Regions from separate parts of the Homo sapiens genome. Here region 1 is linked to region 2. The links are contacts of gene promoters, found by promoter capture Hi-C in blood cells and fetal thymus (Javierre and others, 2016). All regions are on one chromosome and are shown on one strand. The core of a region is centred on a gene start or on the middle of the fragment in contact, and the rest is flanking DNA. Distances in the headings are between cores, read along the strand shown. Region 1 overlaps KMT2A (lysine methyltransferase 2A). Region 2 holds the start of MPZL2 (myelin protein zero like 2).

Region 1 (4,063 bases), core at 745-3,244, 230 kb before region 2:
AAAACAAAACAAAAAACACAAAAAACTTTTAAAAAAATTGTAGCTTACTGTGTGTGCCAGGCACCAAATAGAGGCTTTACATACATTATTTCATTTAATCCTCACAGCCACTCTGAGGTAAGCGTTATTATCTTCATTTTAAAGATGAAACTGAGGGTCAGAGAGGTTAAACTACTTGCCAAAGTCAATAAGTAGGCAGTTAAGCACAGAAATGTATTCAGGCAGGCGGCAGAACTCGGGCTCTTAACGATTCTGCTATCCTATATGAAACACAAGCTTTTTAATATGCAACTTAGATTTTATTAACTTTCACAAAATATTCTTGAGGAACTTCCATTAGAAATTACTAGACATCAAGGGTTTAATTTAAGGCAAATCAGTCACCTTTTAATCAACAAAATCAGTCATTAAAAAACTCCAAGTGCCATGAACTAAGTGACAAAAAATAAGTTACAAATTAATAAGTTATAAGTTATAGGTAAATAAAAGTTATAAATTAGTAAGTTATAAGTAAGTTCATTAAATAAATGGCACCCAGTCATCAAGTATGGACACAAGGACAAACAGTTCTTTTGGAGTATGTATTAACTAGGGCCCTGTGTTGCAAAGTACTTACATTAGCACTGTCATCACCATAAGTCAAACATAACGCACACTGTCTATTGTCTTCTATGCCTGGGGGTGGGTTCAGCTCTGGACTGTCTTCTCGACTCCTATCAGTACCTTGAAATCCAAAAGACTCCCATCAATACCTTGAGATCCAGTTAAAATTGGCAATACTATGTCTGATTTCAAGGAAAAAAGAAATAATTCAGCTTACATAGCCCACAGCCTATAAAATAACCACTTTTCAAAAAGTGTTCAGAGTTACGCTACCTCATCATCTATGTTACAATACTCCAGAGTATTTATATCAAGTCCTCATTAACACCTCAAGTGAAGCAAAATTAATGATGGTATTACATTTAAGGATGACCTGAAAATTCCTTTCTGATATCCAAGTATATCTAATTTTAGTGAATTGGATTCACGAAGTCAATCATCTGCATCTAGAGGGAAATGGGTGACGACTCTCCTTTTGGTGGCTTACTCAAAATTGGTGGTGTAGGAGGATGCAGAGGAGTTGGTGAGTCTGGTTCTCCAGGACCTTTGGGTTTGGGAGCTGGAATGATTTTCTTCATTAAAGGAGGCTGCTCAGTGTGGCTGTTTTCCTCTCGCTCCTGCCACTGAGCATAATTATGGTCAAGTGAAGGTGGAAGCACTGCGTTTGGTAACATCCCACTGCTGAAAATAATTGATTCAACAAGCATTTATTGAACTCCTACAGTATACCTAGAACTGTATAAAATAAATTCTTGATATCACCTGTTGCCCCATGTAGGAGCCATTCACAGAATATAAGAACAAGTCACAGCGTTTGAAAATTGCTGAAGTACACAGAACTCAATATTTTAAAAAATATCTCAACATATGACTCTTGGTTAAACTTGCTGAAACAAATGATAACCCTATCAAAAACTCAAAAGAGGCCGGGCATGGTGGCTCATGCCTGTAATCCCAGCACTTTTGGGAGGGTGAGGCAGGCGGATCACCAGGTCAAGAGATCAAGACCATCCTGGCCAAAATGGTGAAACCCAGTCTCTATTAAAATACAAAAATTAGCTGGGCATGGTGGTGCCCGCCTGTTTTCCCAGCTACTTGGGAGGCTGAGGGAGGAGAATCGCTTGAACCAGGGAGGCGGAGGTTGTAGTGAGCCGAGATCATGTCACTGCACTCCAGCCTGGTGACAGAACGAGACTCCGTCTCAAAAAAAAAAAAATAAATAAATAAATAAAATCAAATCAAAAGAATTTACTGGAATAAAAATTAAAGGTTACATATGGAAAATCAAGAGCAGTACAAAGCACCATTTGAACTATCAGTCAAACAGAACCCATTTATAACAAGGCCAGCTACATGGCTGTACCACACATGTATTGTACATTTGTCACAATTAAACCAAGCTCCCTACAATAAAACAAATATAAAAGTAAAGAACAAAAAGGCAATTGCTTATAACAAACATTAAATGTAGTCCTCAAAACCACACCGAAAAGGCATTTCAACCAATTCATTTCTAGTATTAAAACCTTTTGGAAAACTGCAATCTAGAAATATGAGAACTCTCAGATTTCTAGCCGATGAGGAGAAAAAAAAGTTATGCTAAATTCACTTACTTGCTTGATACTTTATTTGGCTCCCAAAACCTGGACTTTTTGACACTGAACCATGGAAAAACACGTTCCATTTGCTAAAAGAAAACACAAACAAAATGTAAATATGTAAACACTCATTTAGATACCACATGAAAAATCTTCAAACCAGCTTCTCTGTTAATACGAGGATAATTTCAGGCCACCAAGAGAAAGATCCATCCACTCTGGCAACCTCACCAAGTTCCTCTCAAAGAATCAGGGGATCAAATTAAACCAAAGATGTTTTATACACACCACAAAGCAAAAAGTAGAAGAGAACAAGTTCATTGTATTCACAGGGTAATTACTTATAGGTAAGCATTAAAAACATGAATTAGTAATATCATTCACCCGAATGAAGAAGGACTTGACCATGCTGTTGGCTTTTTTAATTTCTGGCTGTCCTCCATCTGAATTAATGGCTGCTTGAATGATCTTCACAATATCATCACTGAACTCCAACTGTATACAAAAACAAAATGTTAATTATTCTTAAAACAGTGTGCTCTGAAAACCATTTCCTCTTCCCTCCTTAATCATCCAGCACAGAGATCCAACAGAAAACTCACACCCTATTTTAATGTGGTATAATACTCTTTGGCTGAGACCTTTGAGATTCAATTCACGATTAACCTGTGGCAATTAAGAGATGCCAGGCTAATGAGGTAAGAATGCAAACAAATTGGCTGTATCATGATAAATTATCCAAGCAGGTCCACAGTTTTTATTTTGGATTAAAATAAATAAACAGTGGCTCACGCCTGTAATCCCAGCACTTTGGGAGGCTGATGTGGGTGGATCACTTAAGGTCAGGAGTTCATGACCAGCCTAGCCAACATGGTGAAACCCAATCTCCGCCAAAAATACAAAATTAGCCAGGCATGGTGGCACATGCTTATGTAATCCCAGCTACTTGGGAGGCTGAGGCAGGAGAATCACTTGATTACGGGAGGCAGAGGTTGCAGTGAGCCGAGATCATGTCACTGCATGCCAGCCTGGGTAACAGAGCGAGACTCCATCTCAAATAAATAAATAAATAAATAAAAATAAACAACAGAATCGCAAATATAGATCATGAGATAATAAATAATCATTTCCTATACATACTTAAAATCATAAAATTAACAGGCATCTATCTACAAATGAAGACCTTATAAAGAAAGGCACATTATTCAGATCTGATCTCAAAAGGGGAGGGAGAACCAATTAATTTCATATTAGCATTTCCCACATCAACAGTTTCTTAGTGCTTCCTCTTAATATAAAAATAATTTTCAGAAAACTGAGATGAAAGCCAAATAAAAGAACTATTTTAAGACATTATCTTCCCTATCACAACCCTTCTTCTGAAACACAAAGCTAAAATAACTCATACATTTTTAGGTATCTAAAGCCACGTGACATTTCTAAATATAATACAATTCATTTTTAAATTTACTTATACTCAGTTTCATGCCCCAAAGGTCCAAAGAAGCTTTATTGGCACTAGAAATTCTGATGGCTCACTGTAGAAACATACCACAGATGTGTAATTCCCTTGGTCCATCTTCCTCTTGACTCCTTCTAGATCTAAAGGCTGCTGATCATCCTGTTTGCTGACCTCAGTAAGAACTGGTGGATCAGGTCCTTCGGGGGAGCTGCGGGAAGGTATACTCTCCTCTGTCTCGGGATTTAAGTCTGGAGGCTTGGCAGCCTATTGCCAGGAAAGATATGTTGCTTTTATCTAACACTAAAACCAAGGTGTCCATGTAAATTCTATTAAAATTAATAAAGATGGTACTGAATGATTAATATTGTAAAACCCAAGGAACATGAAAATAATCAGATTT
Region 2 (4,517 bases), core at 1,809-4,308:
AACAGATGTTAGGTCTACACTTTCATTCTGGCTCATAAGCCAGGAGCCCAAACGAAAGCCAGGAGAGTAAGTGGTCGTTGGTGTCCCAAGACTTTCCTTCTTGTTTTTAATGGTTCTGGGAAATACCAAAGTAATTCTACTTCTAGGGATGCTCTTCTTGGGTCACATATTAGCCATCCCCAATGGGTATATTTGTTAGGATCAAGTCCACACTCCTTAGGATGGTGGATGAGGGCACTGCCCAGGTGGACCTAGCCTCTCACCTGGCCTGCCACTCCTCCCTGTGCTCCAGGTTTGAGGAATTGCATGCTAGTCCCTGTGGGTACCACATTCCCACCCATTTGTTCCAATGGGAAGGACTTTGTTTATCCTCTTTCCAGAATTCCTATTCATCCTTTAAGGATTGAATTTAAAAATCAAGAAAGTGATAATTATTTGTTTACTTCACCTTCCTATCTTATATTATTTCCTCCCAGGTAGAAATATTCTATGTATGTCTGAATTTTTTCTAGTAAAAACATATGAACAGACACTTTTGAGTAAACGAATGCTTTATTTGATGACCCTAAGAGCTAAATTATTTGTTTTCCTTGCTTCACAGAATGCTAATTTCACCTTAGGTGAAAAAAAGATTTTTGCCTAGGAGGTTGAGAAAGACAACTTTTACAAATATTGATACAGGCCCACTGTCCCTTCTGTCTCCTGAGCCCCCAGTGAGTCTCCTGCTGGCTAAGGTCTAGATACTCACTAGAAATCATTTTTTGGGAAATGTGTAGATGGATGGGACAGATGAGATTCTTTCAAAAACTATTGGTATGTCACAATTTTAAATGACAATCAGGATCTTTCTCTGGAAAAGTTTAGAAAGAAAATGGTGTCTCTGAAAACTTTACTTTTCTTCTTTTCAATTTCCAGAACTCCTCTTCCTTTCCTTCCATTTGCCTGGGCACAAACATAACTTAGGCCTTATGTAGATGCCTGCAGTTTTGGTCTAAGTCCTGCTGACTGGTGTCCAGAAAACTGTGAGGGGCAAACATCCTTTTTATTTAGCATTTTCTCTTCTTAACCTTCTACCCTTGGCCTCTTCCTTGCCCAGTGAGGTGAAGTGGTTGACTGTGGAGCCACTCCTGCTAACTGGAAGGAACTGGGCGTTGCCAGGCACTAAGCCAGGAACTTGAACTCAGCTGAGAAGTGGGATCTGGATAACTCCTGCCCCTCAGAGCAAGGCTGGCAACCAGCTCATGGGTGTTTGGCTACCTGGGGGAGGGATTTCTGCTCCTGACAACAGGCAGTTTGTTCAGTTCTTCCTGCCCTGATTCTTCTCCTGTTGCTTTTCACTGCATCCCTGAGCTCTTTGGTAACTCTACCTCTCACCAGTTTTTGCAATTTGCTGTAGACTTCAAAATCCTGGCTCTACCTCTCCTTCCTCTGTAGCTGTATTTCCCTGCAAAGTTGGAAGCCAACCAAGATCAAGTTTCCTTAACTCTTTTTCTTTCAGGGTCCTGGAGCTGAACTCTTCTGACCTACATACCAGAAAGGCTGTATCTTATCCTTCCTCACCAACATCTGAAAGGTTCCCCCAGCAGACTGATTTTAGGTCCCTTTCTGAACTAGAATCTGACAAAGACGCCACACAGTTTTCAGAAACTCTCACCATGCAACAGATTTTCACTAGCACACAGCTGGTCTGCATTTGGGGCCACCTCTGCTTTCTGAGTTCCAACACAATGGATTTTTGTGGTTGTCTACCTGTTTTTGCTCCATGCCCATGTCATCTTTCTCCTGTTGCTTTCTGTTTTCTGCACTTCTGCATTCTCCTCTCTTTTGGTAGAATTTTCTCTTTTCTTCCCTCTTTATGATGTTTTATTTTTTTCTACTCAGCCTGCCGCCTTCTCTTGTTCCTGCCACCCTTTCTGCTCTGGATTCAGCTAGAAGATTTTATGAGTGACTGAAGAGTTTCTAGACTGCTAATCCAGGGATAAACGCAATCTGTCTTTTTTCAGGGTTAGATTCCCAGCCCAGCCTACTTCTTAACTGCATGTGTAATCTTCATCCCCCTCCTACCGATGTTTCTGTGCCGCTTCATTAATCTGTAAAGATGACCCACCCTCTTTCCAGACAAGGAGGCATCTTTTCTCGTTTAGATTCCTCAGCTCTTTAGACTTCTCAGTCATTTAGCTATTCAAAAAATGACAGATGAAATCCGAGGCACAACAAAGTTATCATGAAAACCTTTTCCTTGAGAGCCCCATGTCTGATTGTTCATATTAGCTGTTATTTGGTGGAAAGAACGCTAGATTTTTAAGAAAAGTTCTGGTTTTGCCACATGGTAGCTGTGCAACCTTGGGCAAATCATTTACCTTCCTCGGGTTCTTAGCGTCCTCACTGGTAGAATGGGAATGCTTCACAAGGGCGTTAATGGAGATGAAACAATCAGCAGGAGAGCACTTTGTAGATTGCACTCGGATGGCAGGGTGAATGAGCAGGGATGGTGTCCTCATTTGTTTTTAAAGTCTTCAAAGGTAAAGGATTGTTAAGCATGGAGATTTGATTTGTTGTTTCTGCCAGGTCTCCTGGAAAGCTACAAACTAGAAGAAGTGCAGGAATCCTTGTGGTAACAGGGGTATCAGCTTTTTGTCCACAGAGGGTCCTAAGGAATTCCGACTCCCGTTTTGAAATTGTATCGAATCCAGTCCCAAGTGAATGTGGCCCTGGGGTGGTGCTTTGAGAAGTGGAATCACTGCAGGACAGTTTCAACATTCACTTCCCAGGCAAGCCTAAAGCCTGTTTTAAAAGGGCGTGTGGGGGCCAAACCCATAACAGTCTGGGACATTTCAGACTGGCACCACCTCCTCTGGCTGTTTCCGAGGCCATCTAGAGGCCAGAGCCCAGTCAGATTAACTGAAAGTAAAGAGAGGACTGCGGGAGTTTGGGACCTTTGTGCAGACGTGCTCATGCTCGTTCGTGTAGAGGGCGGGAGAGAGGAAAGGAAGGAGGGCATTGGGAGCTGAGGCCCCACCTTTCATTTCAGAAAAGTGCACAGGCAGAGCGGGCTGAGTCACAGGCACAGGTGAGGAACTCAACTCAAACTCCTCTCTCTGGGAAAACGCGGTGCTTGCTCCTCCCGGAGTGGCCTTGGCAGGGTGTTGGAGCCCTCGGTCTGCCCCGTCCGGTCTCTGGGGCCAAGGCTGGGTTTCCCTCATGTATGGCAAGAGCTCTACTCGTGCGGTGCTTCTTCTCCTTGGCATACAGCTCACAGGTAAGAGCCGGCGGGCTTCTCTCAGAGTTTCCTCCTTCACTGCTCACTCTATAAAGTTAGCTAATTGTCTTAGAAGTTGCAAGACTTTTGTTTGGGAGCCTGAGCCACAGATACAGTTTGTTTTACTTTGGGTTTTACTGAAACCAAAGTTGGTGGACTGTTTTTGGAGAACTGCTCTCGGACAAACAGGTTTAGGTGTGTTCAGCTGCCAGTGATTCAGGCACAGAGAGGGCTTTCTAATCTCAGGTTACATGCCATTTTTTTGTGTGTGGCTGTTCTCAACCTCCCACTGCTGGCAGGACTTGGCATTTGGATTTCTGTGTGTGGGTCTTGTCTGTGACTCTCAGCAACACCAGGAAAGTGGAGATTGTTAGAGAGAGACCTACTGTGATTTTGAAAGTGCCCCAACACACACATTCTAAATGTAAATATCAAGTTTAAAAAAATGCCACGTGGTACAAAGGTTCTAGGGGTGCAGGCAAACATAAGCTGTCTGGAGTTGATTAATTCAGTTTCTGCAATAGACTAGTAACAGTATGAAATCCACCTAAGGACCCATCTGGAAAACTTACCTGCTAGGAGACCACTTTACATACAACACATAATGCTTAACCTTAATACATAATGTAATGTCTAATCAATGTTATGATTCATTTTAATTTTTTGTTTATGCTTTCAATTCTATTTGCGGATGTTTGTAGTTTGTTATAACAGTTTTGAAGTCAGTACCACGAGGCGAGGCTTTAATGCTGTGGAGAAAGTAAAAGCACTGCGAAGGCTTGCTGTGTGGTAGTTTAGTTGTCACATGGAATGGGAGGGTCCAGGCTGCATACAGGTAGGAGTATGTAGATTCTGGGTGAAGTAAGTTTGGGAGATGGGGCATCTCAGTTTCACTTTACTTTAAGTCCTACTCAGATATTTATTTTGGAAGTGTCAGCAGAAGTTCTCACAATACTACATCCCCTGTTAACCCTTCTTTTTCTTCTTTTTCATTGCAGCTCTTTGGCCTATAGCAGCTGTGGAAATTTATACCTCCCGGGTGCTGGAGGCTGTTAATGGGACAGATGCTCGGTTAAAATGCACTTTCTCCAGCTTTGCCCCTGTGGGTGATGCTCTAACAGTGACCTGGAATTTTCGTCCTCTAGACGGGGGACCTGAGCAGTTTGTAAGTAGATTATCATCATTTTCCAGGGTACTCTTGTTTAGGGAAATAATAAGCCAGTCCATTTCTCCTTTCCCTTCCAGTATTTTTCTTAGC

Evidence for each region. The method cuts DNA at HindIII sites, captures the fragments that hold promoters and counts their contacts. A CHiCAGO score of 5 or more calls a contact.
Region 1: a fragment that was not itself captured here is called in contact with the fragment with the promoter of MPZL2 in region 2 in 2 of 17 cell types (naive CD4 T cells and total CD4 T cells); the score reaches 5.6 in naive CD4 T cells.

The regions. Positions count from the first base shown.
Region 1 is chr11:118,492,921-118,496,983 of GRCh38, reverse strand. KMT2A (lysine methyltransferase 2A) reads right to left here. Exons shown (of 36, transcript NM_001197104.2): 16 at 3,754-3,927; 17 at 2,586-2,696; 18 at 2,217-2,290; 19 at 1,091-1,284; 20 at 617-723. Among named protein-coding and RNA genes, the nearest start is that of TTC36, 33 kb to the left of the region's middle. The HindIII fragment of the contact is 3,432 bases long and covers 279-3,710 here.
Region 2 is chr11:118,262,838-118,267,354 of GRCh38, reverse strand. MPZL2 (myelin protein zero like 2) reads left to right here and starts at 3,058. Exons shown (of 6, transcript NM_005797.4): 1 at 3,058-3,259; 2 at 4,258-4,424. The coding sequence starts at 3,202. RefSeq lists an enhancer at 3,257-3,306. The HindIII fragment of the contact is 8,608 bases long and covers 1-4,517 here.